Regions from separate parts of the Homo sapiens genome. Here region 2 is linked to region 1. Evidence: promoter capture Hi-C in 16 types of primary human blood cells and fetal thymus (Javierre and others, 2016). All regions are on one chromosome and are shown on one strand. Each heading gives the region's core, a stretch centred on a gene start or on the middle of the fragment in contact. The rest is flanking DNA. Distances are from core to core; before and after follow the strand shown. Region 1 holds the start of CSE1L (chromosome segregation 1 like). Region 2 overlaps PREX1 (phosphatidylinositol-3,4,5-trisphosphate dependent Rac exchange factor 1).

Region 1 (6,517 bases), core at 2,226-4,725:
CGGGTGACCCATCCTGTCCTCCCAAAGTGTTGGGATTACAGGCGTGAGCCACCATGCCCAACCTAGACAGATTGTTTTATAAGGGTTTAGAAAGAAAGGAAACTACATGAATGAGTACTTAGTCTCCTGCTCCTTGAAGTGGATGAATTGTTTTCTTTGGTTTCCAACACAGTCTGTTAAGAGTTGTAGCACGCCCCAAGAGTATGTGCATGTAGTGGAGCTGGGATGGGGAGGATTCCCAAGGGAATCTTTAGCTGTCACCCATGAACCATGCAGAGTGGAGAAGGACACTCAGCCTTTCTGTGGCTCTCACCTGCATGATTATTCTGGTGGCTGCAAAGGGCGATAGGCAGTAGGAGGAGACACCCCGTGACACCAAGAGCTGTGTCCAGACATGATCGTCTTGGCACAGCTTGAGGGTTTTCTACAGAAACTGGTAGAGATGCTAGACAGACACAAGATGCCAGCCAGCCTCCTTTGCGATTGGCTCTTAGAGGTGGAAAATGGTAAAGTCATCAGGCTCATTCTCCCTAGGACTAGAGGAACATGTTAATTATATTAAAGTAGATTAGTGGGCCGGGTGTGGTGGCTCACGCTTGTAATCCCAGCACTTTGGGAGGCCGAGGCGGGCGGATCATGAGGTCAGGAGATCAAGACCATCCTGGCTAACACGGTGAAACCCTGTCTCTACTAAGAATACAAAAAATTAGCTGGGCATGGTGGCGGGCGCCTGTAGTCCCAGCTGCTCGGGAGGCTGAGGCAGGAAAATGGCGTGAACCCAGGAGGTGGAGTTTGCAGTGAGCCGAGATCGCACCACTGCACTCCAGCTTGGGCAACAGTGTGAGACTCCGTCTCAAAAAAAAAAAAAAATGCAGATTAGAACGATTAAAATGATTACTGGTGATTACTGGTACTATTGCTGCAATAGTAAAAATACATCTTTTTCACCAATGTCTTTGTTTTTTTTTAAAATGTTCCACCGTCTTCTGACCATCATGGTTTATTTTTATTTTTATTTTATTTATTTATTTATTTTTTTAAGACACAGTCTCGCTGTCACCCAGGCTGGAGTGCAGTGGCTCGATCTCGGCTCACTGCAGCCTCTGCCTCCCAGGTTCAAGCGATTCTCCTGCCTCAGCCTCCTGAGTAGCTGGGACTACAGGCGCATGCCACCACATCTGGCTAATTTTTGTATTTTTGTAGAGACAGGGTTTTACCATGTTGGCCAGGATGGTCTCGATCTCCTGACCTCATGATCCGCCTGCCTCAGCCTTCCAAAGTGCTGGGATTACAGGCATGAGCCACCGTGCCCGGCCTCACCAATGTCTTTCACTCATGTATCTTTCTCCATGGACTTCACTTATTTATATATGGCATTTCATTCAACATGCAACAAACATTTATTAAGCAGCTACTGTGTGCCTAGTGCTGGGGGTACAGCTGTGAATACCATCAATATGGGGCTAGATGTGGTGGCTCACACCTGTAATCCCGGGGCTTTTTTTTTTTTTGAGATGGAGTTTCGCTCTTGTTGCCCAGGCTGGAGTGCAATGGCAAGATCTCAGCTCACCGCAACCTCTGCCTCCCGGGTTCAAACGACTCTCCTGCCTCAGCCTCCCAAGTAGCTGGGATTGCAGACGTGCGCCACCACACCCGGCTAATTTTGTATTTTTAGTAGAGACGGGGTTTCTCCATGTTGGTCAGGTCTCAAACTCCCAATCTCAGGTGATCTGCCTGCCTCGGTCTCCCAAATCACTGGGATTACCGGCGTGAGCCACCATGCCCAGCCCTATCCCAGTGCTTTAGGAGGCGGAGGTGGGAGGATCACTTGAGGCCAGGAGTTTGCCTGGGCAACATAGTGAGAGCTCATCTCTACAAAAAAATTCAAAATTAGCCAGGTGTGGTGGCAGGTGCCTGTAGTCCTAGCTACTCAGGAGGCTGAGGTGGGAGGATTGCTTTAGCCTAGGAGGTCGAGGTTGCAATGAGCTATGATTGTGCCATTGCACTGCAGCCTGGGTGACAGAGCAAGACCCTGCCTCTTAAAAGAAAAAAAAAAAAAAAAAAAAAGCCCTGGCCAGGCGTGGTGGCTCATGCCTGTAATCCCAGCACTTTGGGAGGCCAAGGCTGGCGGATCACAAGGTCAGGAGTTCAAGATCAGCCTGGCCAATATGGTGAAACCCCGTGTCTACTAAAAATACAAAAATCAGCGGGGCATGGTGGCGGGCACCTGTAGTCCCAGTAACTTGGGGGGCTGAGTCAGGAAAATTGCTTGAACCTGGGAGGCAGAGGTTGCAGTGAGCTGTGACAGCACCACTGCACTCCAGCCCTCCAGCCTGGGCGACAGAGCAAGACTCTGTCTTTAAAAAAAAAAAAAAAAAAGAAAAGCCCTTGCTGTATAGAATCCCTTAGGTTATGGATGGGGAGGAGGGCAGGGGTTTAGGAGGGGAGAAGCGGAAGGAGGAACAAAATAAAGAAGAGACAATTAGTTGGAGAGTGATAAATACCATAATGATATCATGGAACTAGGCTTACCAGATCAAACACTGGGCACCCAGTTCAATGTGAATTTCAGATAAGCAATGCATGATTTTTAAGTATAAATATGTCCTACACAGTATTTATACTAGAAAATTATAAATTTTTTTCTAAAATTTACATTGACCTGGGCAGCCTGCATTTTATTTGCTAAACCTGGCAACCCTAATTTGTGTGCTGGGTGGTGGTGAGTGGGCAATTTCAGATAGGCCTCTTTTGTGGAGGTGACATTTGAGCTGGAACCTAAATGTAAAGAAGGAGCCAATCATTCAGGAATCTAGAACATCCCAGCACAGGGAACAGCAAGTATAAATGCTCTAAAGTGGAAATAAGCTTGGAGCTTAGAGGAACAGGAAGAAGGTGGGGTGGCGGAGCTGAGTGAGGGTGAGGAGAGGAGGGAAGCGGAAGGTGATGAGGGCAGGCAGGCTGGCAGGGGCCAGATCCCATATGGTTTGTGGGCTGTAATAAGAGTACCAAAACTTACATACCAGGCCAGGCGCGGTGGCTCACGCCTGGAATCCCAGCATTTTGGGAGGCCAAGGTGTGCGGATCACTTGAGGCCAGGAGTTCGAGACCTGTCTGGCCGTGTCTCCCTCTAAAATAGAAGCTCCAAGAGGGGCAGGAAGTTCTCTTCCGTCTTAGACCCTATGTGCACGACCTTGGATCGATCAACATTGAACACCTCCTACGTGCCAAGCCCTGACATCAAAATGGGTCAGAAGCCAGCAGCCGCTCGCTGAATCTGTGTTCCTCTTTGGAAAACGAGAACCGTGAAGCCTGCTGGCATGGTCAGAGCCAAAGAGCATTGTCACTTGTGAGATCAGCGCAGAAACAGAGCGGGGCCCCGATTGGCCCTTCGAACTTGGGTGGGGCCAGAGCATTCCTGGCCCCGCCCCCTGCAGCGGGCCGCTCGCTCATGCGCTCTGGCCTCAGGCTCGCTGTCGCGCCATTTTGCCGGGGTTTGAATGTGAGGCGGAGCGGCGGCAGGAGCGGGTAGTGCCAGCTACGGTCCGCGGCTGGGGTTCCCTCCTCCGTTTCTGTATCCCCACGAGGTGAGGCGCGGGGCGTGCACGGCCTACCAGAGTGGCTCTTGGGGCCCAGCTGAGGAAGGGATGAGGCGCTCCCGGTACTAACGAGCGCTAGGGAGTGAGAACCGCGCCTCTGGGCGAGAGCGGAATGTGGGCCCGGGGTTCGGGTGGTGCGCTCAGGCAAGGTCTTCGGCTTCCCTAGGGAGCGCTTGCCGCGCCTCGCGGCATCCTAGGTCTCTGGCCCAGGTGCGGCGACCCCAGGGCCTGTGAGGGCTGAGGGCAACTGAGGCGCGGCCTAACGCGAGCCTGCGGATTGCCCGCCCTTTCCTCTCCATCACGGCGCTGATTGGCTGCGCCGCCGCCTCTCCGCTCGGGAAGGCCGCTCCTTATTGGTCGCGCTCGCATGTCCATTCTCTGCGACGGTGGCTGCTAGCCGCGCGAGCTGAGTGTGCGGCGGCGAGGCCTGCCCGGGCGGGGACTGCGGGCGCGTGGAGCTGCGGCTGCCTCGCGTCGTCCCTTGCCCTAACTCTAGTGAAGCCCCCGAACTCACCCTTCTCTAACCTCTGTACTTGTATCCCTGACTGTAAAACGGGCATCGTGATCTCACTTTGCTGAATTGTTTGTGAGAATTCTAGTCGGTACACCCGGGACATAGAAATCCCCTGTAACGCGGGTTGGGGGAGGGTTCCCTCGTTTTGGGAGAAACGCTGTGCTGTGGTGGTTCGGAGCATAGACTTTGGAATTAGATCGCCTGGGTTCATTCCAGACGTAGCCTCTCGTTAGGGGTGTAACTTGAGGCTGGTCACCTCATCTCACTGAGCCTCCATTTCCTTAGCTGCAAAATGGGGTTAATAACAGAATCTACCTCGGAAAGTGGCTTTGAGGATGCGCTGAGTTATTTACCGTGGTTTACAAAGGTTCCCTGGGAGCTGACGGTTGTTTATTCATCTCTCCCACCCATCTTTCTCCTTAGCCAGTGTGGCTTTCTGTTTCTTCCATATTCCAGGGTTATTCCGATTTAAAATTATTTGCACATGCCTTTTGTTTGCTGGGGAAGTACCAACATTTTTGCAAGGCAGGCCGCCTCTCCCAAGTTTCCCTCACCTTAGGCCTCCCCTAACCAACCTCTTCTTTTGTTTTCTTTTTCTTTTTCTTTTCTCTTTTCTTTTTTTTTTTTTTTTTTTTTTTTTTTTGAGAGAGAGAGTCTCGCTCTGCCTCCCAGGCTGGAGTGCAGTGGCGCGATCTCGACTCACTGCAACCTCCGCCTCCCGGATTCAAGCGATTCTCCTGCCTCAGCCTCCCGAATAGCTGAGACTACAGGTCTGAGACTACACGCCACCACACCCGGCTAATTTTTGTATTTTTATTAGAGACGGGGTTTCACCATGTTGATCAGGCTGTCTAATCAACCTGTCTAGGACCTTTCTCCCATGGCTCTCCATCAACATCACCTGGTTTTAGTTACTTCATAGCATTTACTAACACTTACTTATTGCTTACTTGTTATCTTTCTCAACTGCTAGAATGTAAGCTGTTTGAGAGCAAGGACCTTGTCTGTCTTGCTTACTTCTCTCTCCCTGGTGGGTGCCATCCCACCTGTGCTTGCCACATGGTAGATGCACAAGTATTATTCTTCCTTGGAGGCACAGAAGGGGACCCTTTAGTCTTGGATTCCACCAATTGCTCTTTTTCTCACCTTGGGCCCACATAGTCATATCTTTGGCCTTTCTCTGTGTGTGTCTCTCTCTTTTTTTTTTTTTTTTTTGACATGCTTTCAGAGGATCCTAATGGACCTCGTCTCTCCGCTCCTACAACCCTTTATCTTTCACTTCTTACCATCAGTGCAAGGGAAGTCTCTCTCCCCTTCTGATTACTTCTGCTGGTTGGGGTCTGGGACAGGATTGGATGGATGCAAGAGCAGTGCTCTAGTTTTGGAATTAATTTGTTTCTTTATTCATTTAATAACTTTATTGAGCATCCACTTAATCTCTGGGAATATAGTGAAAAAACAAAAATGGACAAGGTCCCTTCCCTTGAGGACCATGTATTCTCGTGGGCGAAAGAAAAAACATTAGATAATTTCAGATAGTGACAGAATTATGTGACAGGTGAAGAAGGCTTTTCTGAGGAGGTGACATTTGGGTAGAGACCAGCCATTAAAAGGTGAGGGGCAGAACATTCCAGGTAGAGGGAATAGAAGGCTCAAGGCTCAAGGACAGGAACCGGCTTGGAATATTGAAATATTTAAGGAATATCTTAGGTTCCTAGAGTGTTACATGAAGAAGGGAGAAATATCCAGGACCCGGATCATAGAAGGCTTTGTAGGCAATGTAAGGAGTTTGGATTTGATTCTAAGTGGTATATTCCTATGGTTAGAAAGCAGAGGGTAGGTTGAGGTGTTGGGATATGTTCTTCATGTGTGGGTGCCAGATAGTTTTCATTCATTGGATCTCTTTCCCTCTTCCCAAATGTAAGGCCTCGGGAATGGTTCTCTAATGTGTTGAGGACATATCTAAGAAAAAGGCAGACATCTTGGATCAGCTTATGTCACAGATGTCTGTGAGATGGCTTTGGAAAACAAAGCTTTTATTCCAGAAATCTCCACCTGTAATTGAGGGCCTGTGGGAAGATGCTAGACTTAGGTCTGGCCATTCATTCAACAAGAAGAACTTGGAAATTTAGATGTCTGCCATAACTGATTTATTGTGATGCTTTTTTAAGTTTCTTAATTGTGTATTGGTAGAGATTTCCAAAGATAGTTACGTGGAGAAAGAAAAGTATCACCCCCTCATTTAAAGGTGATAAAAATGAATTCTTATCTTCTCCCTCCCTTTTTTTTTTGGAGACACCATCTCACTGTGTTGCCTGGGCTGACCTGGGCTCAGTCTATCCTCCTACCTCAGCCTCCCGAGTAGCTAGGACTACAGGCGTGCACCACCACACTCAACTAATTT
Region 2 (6,612 bases), core at 4,060-6,559, 360 kb before region 1:
TGCTTTGTAAAGATAAGCAAGTAAAGATCTTATCGTCCCCTCCAACTACAAGGTCGGCTCCATGACGACAGGCACGTCCTCCTCCCGTTCATTGTGGTGTGAACAGTGCCTGCCACATTATAGGCACTCAATAAATATTTGCTGAATAACTAAAACTTAACCAAATGGTTCTTGACATTTCTTGAAGGGACAGATAAAAGATTCTACTCCCCTGCCCCCAGGTTTTTGAGGTATCCCTGATTTGCTGGTGCCTAAGAGGCAGTTTTACAAGGGCATCCATGTTCCTGCGGGCCACACTGTGCCCAGAAAACACGGCGGCTGCACGAAAGGATAGGAGCTGCCTGAGCTAGTGGAAGCATGGCACAGTTGGGGTCTGACCTGTTCCCACCCCTTGGCCCAGCTGGGCCCAGCCCTCCACTCACCATGGTGGATGATGCCATTCTCCAACAGGGCTTGGCCCAAGTTGACTCCTTCTTCCGTCTTGCTGATTTCACCAATTTCTAGGAGCCAGGCAACGAACTCACTGCCAGGAACACAATATGTGGTTGAGAGGATTTCCCCAATTCTGGGACCACAGGAATCAGCACTAAGCTGGCCTGGCCACATCCACCCCTGGGAATGACAGCTAGAACTTCCCACAGGGAAGCCGAGTGTAGTAGTCTATAGCCCTTGGGGTTGTACTGAGGCTTCATGCTTATTACCAATAGCAGAGAGGAGAGTGTGACCAGATTCCAGGTCTGCCTCAGGCTCACTGGATGGATGCATGGATGGATGGAAGGAAGGAAGGAAGGGAGAGAGGGAGGGAGGGAGAGAGGGAAGGAGGGAAGGAAGCTGGGCAGGCAGGTTGGTGGATGAGTGACTACATAGATGGATGGATGGATGGATGGATGGACGGACGGATGGATGTCCGGCCAGACAGACAGCCAGCAGCACATGGGCAGGTAGGTAAGTGGGTAAGTGGATGAATGAACAGACAGATGACTTAATATGGGGTGGATGAAGAAGAGAGTGAGTAGATGGGTGGATGGGTCAGGGATGGATCACAGATGGCTAGATGGAGTGGTGGCTGGACAGATGAACAGAAGGAATGGACAAACATGCAGGAAGAAATAATAGGGGGCCAGAAAGATGATGGCGGGGAGTCAGGCGAGCTAACAGTGATGAAACCATGTCATTTCCATATTCAAAACCCTCCCACAGGCTTACTACTCACAAAAAAAATCCCAACTCTTCCCACACGGACATAAACAAGGCCCAGCATGACCCACTCCCACCCTGACTGATCTCACCCCCAATACCTCTCATTAGTTATGCCTAAGCCACACCTACCACCTTTCCCTTATTAAAAAATACCAGACTCCTCCCTGCCTCGGGGCTGCTGCACTTGCTGTTCCTTCTGCCTGGAATGCCCTTCCTCAGCTCTTCATGCAACTGTGCCTTCTCATCCTTCAGGTCTCAGCACAAACATCACCTCCTCAGAGAAGCCTTCCCTGACTACCTCATTTAAAATGGTCCCCGACCCCTATCCAATCCATCACATCTCTGTGTTGCTTCCTTTTTTGCACTTTTCACTGTCTGAAGTGGTCTTGTTTACAGATTTATTTTACGTATTTATTGGCCATCTCCCCCAACCAGAATGTAATGACATGAACAGGGTGTTTTCTCTGTCTTATTCATGGCACTATCCCAGCACCTACCAGAGGGCCTGATGCAGAGCAGGGCTCAATGATCATTTATGGAACAAATGAAGTAATGAACCATCCGACAGAAAGGAATGTTCTGAGGTCGGCAGGAAGGTCTCGGGGAGACAGAAGTGCTCCCAGGCCAGAGGAAGACAGGCAGCTTTCCCAGCTCCCACGTGACTGCCCGGTGGTGAGAGGCTCAGCCGGGGCCCCAGGTCCTAGTTCTTGCGGGTGCTTCTCAGGCTCAGCCCAGAGCTCAACCCACTCAAACTCAGCAGGAAAAGGGAGAGCCTGGAATGGGGCTGTTTCCGCCGAGGCAATCTGTGTTCAATGAAAGCAGGTGGCAGCTGGCCAGAGCCTGAGCACCCTGCTTATCGAAACCAGCTGTCCCGCCTCCAATTACAGGGCCAGAGGGGGGCAGGGCTATTTTTAGCTTCCTAGTGTTTGGCAGAGCAAAGACCTGCCTGGTGTGTAGGTAGCGGTGCGTGCTGGAGCATTCAGAATGCCCTGGCTGGAGGCAGAGTGGGCTGCAGAAGAAATGCATCTGCTTTGTGGGACAGGCGCCCCAGGTGGGGAAGGGATTGTTCTGGGTCCTGTCCACCCCCAGTTCCATTCTCAAAGTCTTGGAACTCAGGGACAGGGAGAATGCTGCCAGCAGCTGAAGGAGGGGAACAGATGTTTGAGTGCCCACTCTCGGAAGCCCACCAGCTGTCTAATTGGGGGCCGCCTCTGGCACTGATCAGCAACTCTCTGGCCAGGGTTAGGGGACAGGAAGTATCCCACAGCAGCTGCTGGGGCAGAAGAAGACGGCCCAGAGGACAGCAACTCTGCCCTACGTTTCTGCCCAAACTGGGTCTTGCCATCTTCTGGTGGATCAAGGAGGGTTCACAGCTTGCTGGGCAAAGCTGGGCGGGTCCCTGTGCCTCTCTGGGCCTCATCAGGGCCCACCTGGGAAGTGGCTCACTCAGTCACCTTCTGGATTTAGCAGGCAAAATTTCTAGTCATATGAAATCCTGAGCTGGGATGCAGTATGCAAAAACCCAATAAAATTCATCTCTAGTGCAGGGGTCTCAAACTTGTAAATAGGCAAAACAGGCCAGGAGGAGACTGTGCAGAACCAGCCGGGGCCTGCCGTGTCTAAAGCTGGCAGCCACTCTTCAGTGTAGCCCATCATGGCCCATTATGTTAGAAGACGAACGCATCTAACAGCTTCTCGGGAGAGTGAGGAAATCCAGCATTTCCTGTGAAATCTCCCCATCATTAAATGTTCATATCGAGTCCAACATTTTCTGAAAGCACTACGTGGGCCGAGGAAAACATGTCTGCTAACTCTATCAGGTCAGTGGGGCACTGCTAGCCACCTCTGGGGTACAGGGGAGAGTGTTCTGGGCAAGGGGATCAGCGCACACAGAAGCCCTGAGAGGTAAGGTCAGGAAACCAGCGATCTGCCAGTGGGGAGGGGCGCTGGCATGCAAAGGGCAGCTAGGTCCAAGCTCCCAGAAAGACACAGCTCAGGACAGTGTGAGGAGAGCTGGAGATACAAGGAGAAGGCAATCTAGCTTGATGGGCAGTCTGAGAGTCAGGGATGGCATGGTGAGCTGAGAGTTAGGATGTGTCAGCTTTCATCCCTCCTTCCTTCCCGCCTCCTAGAATCATTCACCCACTAAACATCTATTTAGCCTACAATGGGCCACGGCCAGGGTGAGGCACAAGGAATACATTCTGCAGTCTTCCTAAGAAAGCCGCCTGAGCTCAGGCCCAAGGTACCACTTATGACCCAACACAAGAATCCCTTGTTCTTGCCTGATTCCTCCATGGGCCGTGGGCTCCAAGAGGGTAGGGACTGGGGGGTACCCAGTGGAATACCCATCCCTGTGACTCCACGGCTCAGGGATGCCTCCTGGAGATGACAATGTTGGACAAATCCTTACCGACCCTCTCGTGCACACTAACACCCTGCACCTGTGCGTACAGGTGGCCAAGACACCAAGGCCCCTTCCACCTTGGAGCTTTCCCTCTGGCAGACGTCCATAACTGAACAGCATCTAATCTCTGCCAAGGGTGAAACCCAAGGCCTTCGTCCAGGAAGCTTTTCCTGACGGCCCCTGCCAGACACGCCGCGTCATACCTGGTAACCCTGAGCTCCGACAGCTCCACCAATGCCCTCGATCTGGATCCTCATCTCACTCCACTACCGAGACTCCTCCAGTGGCTTCCCACAGCACCAAGACGGAAATGTGAGCTGCCTGCCAAGGCCCTGCCTGAGGTGACCCACTTTAACTGCTGAGGCCACATCTCCTGCCCCTCTGACCACTCAGGCTCCAGCCACAATGGCCTCCTCCTGTTCCACCATCACTCAAAGCTCACTGCAGCCTCAGGGCTTTCGCGCCTACTGCTTCCTAAGCCAGGAATGCTGTTCCCCACACCCTCTCATGGCTGGCTCTTGCTTGTCTTTCAGATCGTGGTTAAATGTCACTTCCCCTGAGAGGTCCTGACTGCCCACTCTTCTGAACCAGCCCCATTTCCTCTTGTCCTGACTTCACGCTAAGTATTTCCTTAGCGCATTCATCAAGTTGCTGAAATTCCCTTCTTTCTATCTGTCTCCTCTTCTGTTGTCTGATTTCCCCCACTGGATGCTTACCTCTATGAGGGCAGGGACTTCATCTGTCCTATTCCCGACTGGCACATAGCAGGGACTCGGTAACACTGAGTGGGTGAATGAATGAGTGAATCTGTTTTGTCTCCCCTACTAATCTGACGATGCCAGAGGGCACAGGCCATGCTCCTCCCAGGACACCCTCCACATTAATACACACAGATTTTATTCTTTGCTTTTTAAATGTGGCATCTAAGAGATTTTTCTCTGAGTAGGGCAGAAAGAGGCCCCTCCTTCATACACTCATCATGCACAGCCAGTACGATTCCCACGAGTCTCACCAGCACTGTGCTGCACACGTCACGTGTTCTCTCACTGTATCCTCCGACAGTCCTCAGAGGCACATTTTATTATCTCCCTTTAACTGATCGTTCACTGAGGTTCAGAGAGGTTAAGAAACTTCCCCAATGTCACACAGCTAGAAAGTGAGGGAACCAAGACTTGAGTCCAAGTCTAACTCAAAGCCAACCCTTGGGGGTGATAAAGACAAATCAGGCCAGGTGCAGTGGCTCACGCCTGTAATCCCAGCACCTTGGGAAGCCAAGGCGAGAGCATTTGCAAGACCCCCATCTGTACAAAAAAAAATAAAAATTAGCTATAGAAGCCTAGCACAGTGGCACACACCTGTAGTCTCAGCTACTCAGGAGGCAGGAAGATCGCTTGAGCCCAGGAGTTTGAGGCTACAGTGAGTTATGATCACACCACTGTACTCCAGCCTGGGCAACAGAGCGAGACCCTGTCTCTAAAAACCAAAAGATAAATCAGACACTTTTTATATTCATGCAGTTCCCTAACAGTGGAGACAGATGTAGAGAGAGGAACTGCTAGGGAAAAATAAAATGTGCTGAGTAGAAATAAAAATGAATAGACAGGCAAAGTACAGTGGGAGACAGCACCAGTGTCGCTTTGTGATCTTGTACAGAACCCTTCCCCTCTCTGTGCCTCGGTTTCCTCACTTTTAAAATGGGGGTAGTGGCAGTGACTGTTTCACGGTGTTGTGTGGGGATTAAAAGACATGGCTGAATGCCAGCACATGCAGCAAAGGGCTTGATCAATATCTCGGAGGCTACCAAGTCCTTCTACCCTGGAGGACCAGGGACGCATCTTGGACAAGAAGATTCAGTAGCGGGACCCTGGCGGGGGTAGCAGGATCACACACCCTACGGCTGTGTGCAGAGCAAAGCCGTGCAGGGAGAAGAGTTTATCAGAATAATCTCCTGCAGAAAGGCTGGCCCTTTCGGACCTGCAGTTACAAAACAAGCTGCTATCTTGGCCCCATTTCAAATGGGCAGTAAAAGAAATCTCTCTAATCCTTCCTGAGGAGGCAGAACTCCTCGAAGTTCTGATCACAGACAGGCTGCCTCATCGGTCCGGACTGAGCAGTTTGGCAGGAGATGGGAAGGTTCTCTGGCCCCAGGGGGCCCGGAAGCAGGCCCCTCCTGAGAGAAAAACCTCCTTTCCTGTGGGATTAGGAGTTGGCTGAAAAGGCCAGCCAGGCTGCCCCGCCCCGCCTGCCCCAGCCAGCAGGACTCCAAGGCCCAAACTCTCCTCTCCATGGAAGCTCAGAGCTGGAGTTCCTGATCTTTGAGGAAAATAGGGCACCAAGGCCCTTGAGGGCAACAGGGCAATAGAGTCCATGGCGCCCTGCAGGTTTGAACCCTTCTACTTGCTGCCCCTCCACCACAAGCCTCAGGCCATGAGTGCCAGCTGTCCCCAAGTCCACACTAAGCCTCCGTGGCCTGCCCAACATCCATACTGCACCCTGAATGTCTATCAGCATTTCAGCCTCCACCGGGCTCCTGCTCCTTCCCAGGGACCTGCTCCTGCCTCCCCGCCTCTTCCTCCCCTTGGCTTCCGGAGGAGTGCCACCTTCTCGCCAGCAGCTCCACTCAGAGGTCTCTGCCCCCTCCTCCTTCCAATGCCATCATCGGGCCCCAGGGCCCAGGCCTGCCTCTTCTATCCCTTCAGGTTCCCCTGCACAGTTCAGGCCGTCTCATGGCTTTAAAGACCATTTAACACCATCTCCCATGTGTAGGTCCCCAATGCAGACCTTTCTCCCCAAGTCAAGATTTTGCAACCAACCAACAAGCCCACATCTCCATGTGGGTGTCTACCAGCCTGACATAACCCGTCCACAACTGCACTCGTGGGCTTCCCACGGCCCCCTGCAGCCTGCTCCTCCCGCCATCTTCTTCTCCTTCTCAAAGGAGCAACTGCAGCTTTCCAGCGCCTTAAAGTCCTGAACTCCCTTTACTTTTCCACCCCATCAGCAAA

What was found. Contacts are between HindIII fragments. The CHiCAGO score rates a contact against its expected background, and 5 or more counts as called.
Region 2: a contact is called between a fragment that was not itself captured here and the fragment with the promoter of CSE1L in region 1, in 1 of 17 cell types (monocytes). The highest score is 5.3, in monocytes.

Annotation. Positions count from the first base shown.
Region 1 is chr20:49,042,837-49,049,353 of GRCh38, forward strand. It overlaps CSE1L (chromosome segregation 1 like), which reads left to right and starts at 3,476. Exons shown (of 25, transcript NM_001316.4): 1 at 3,476-3,587. It overlaps CSE1L-DT (CSE1L divergent transcript), which reads right to left and starts at 3,220. Exons shown (of 2, transcript NR_110625.1): 1 at 3,024-3,220. RefSeq lists enhancers at 3,099-3,248, 3,799-3,868, 3,834-4,474. The HindIII fragment of the contact is 3,278 bases long and covers 2,867-6,144 here.
Region 2 is chr20:48,680,813-48,687,424 of GRCh38, forward strand. It overlaps PREX1 (phosphatidylinositol-3,4,5-trisphosphate dependent Rac exchange factor 1), which reads right to left. Exons shown (of 40, transcript NM_020820.4): 11 at 423-523. Among named protein-coding and RNA genes, the nearest start is that of PREX1, 140 kb to the right of the region's middle. RefSeq lists an enhancer at 2,217-2,966. The HindIII fragment of the contact is 3,081 bases long and covers 3,770-6,612 here.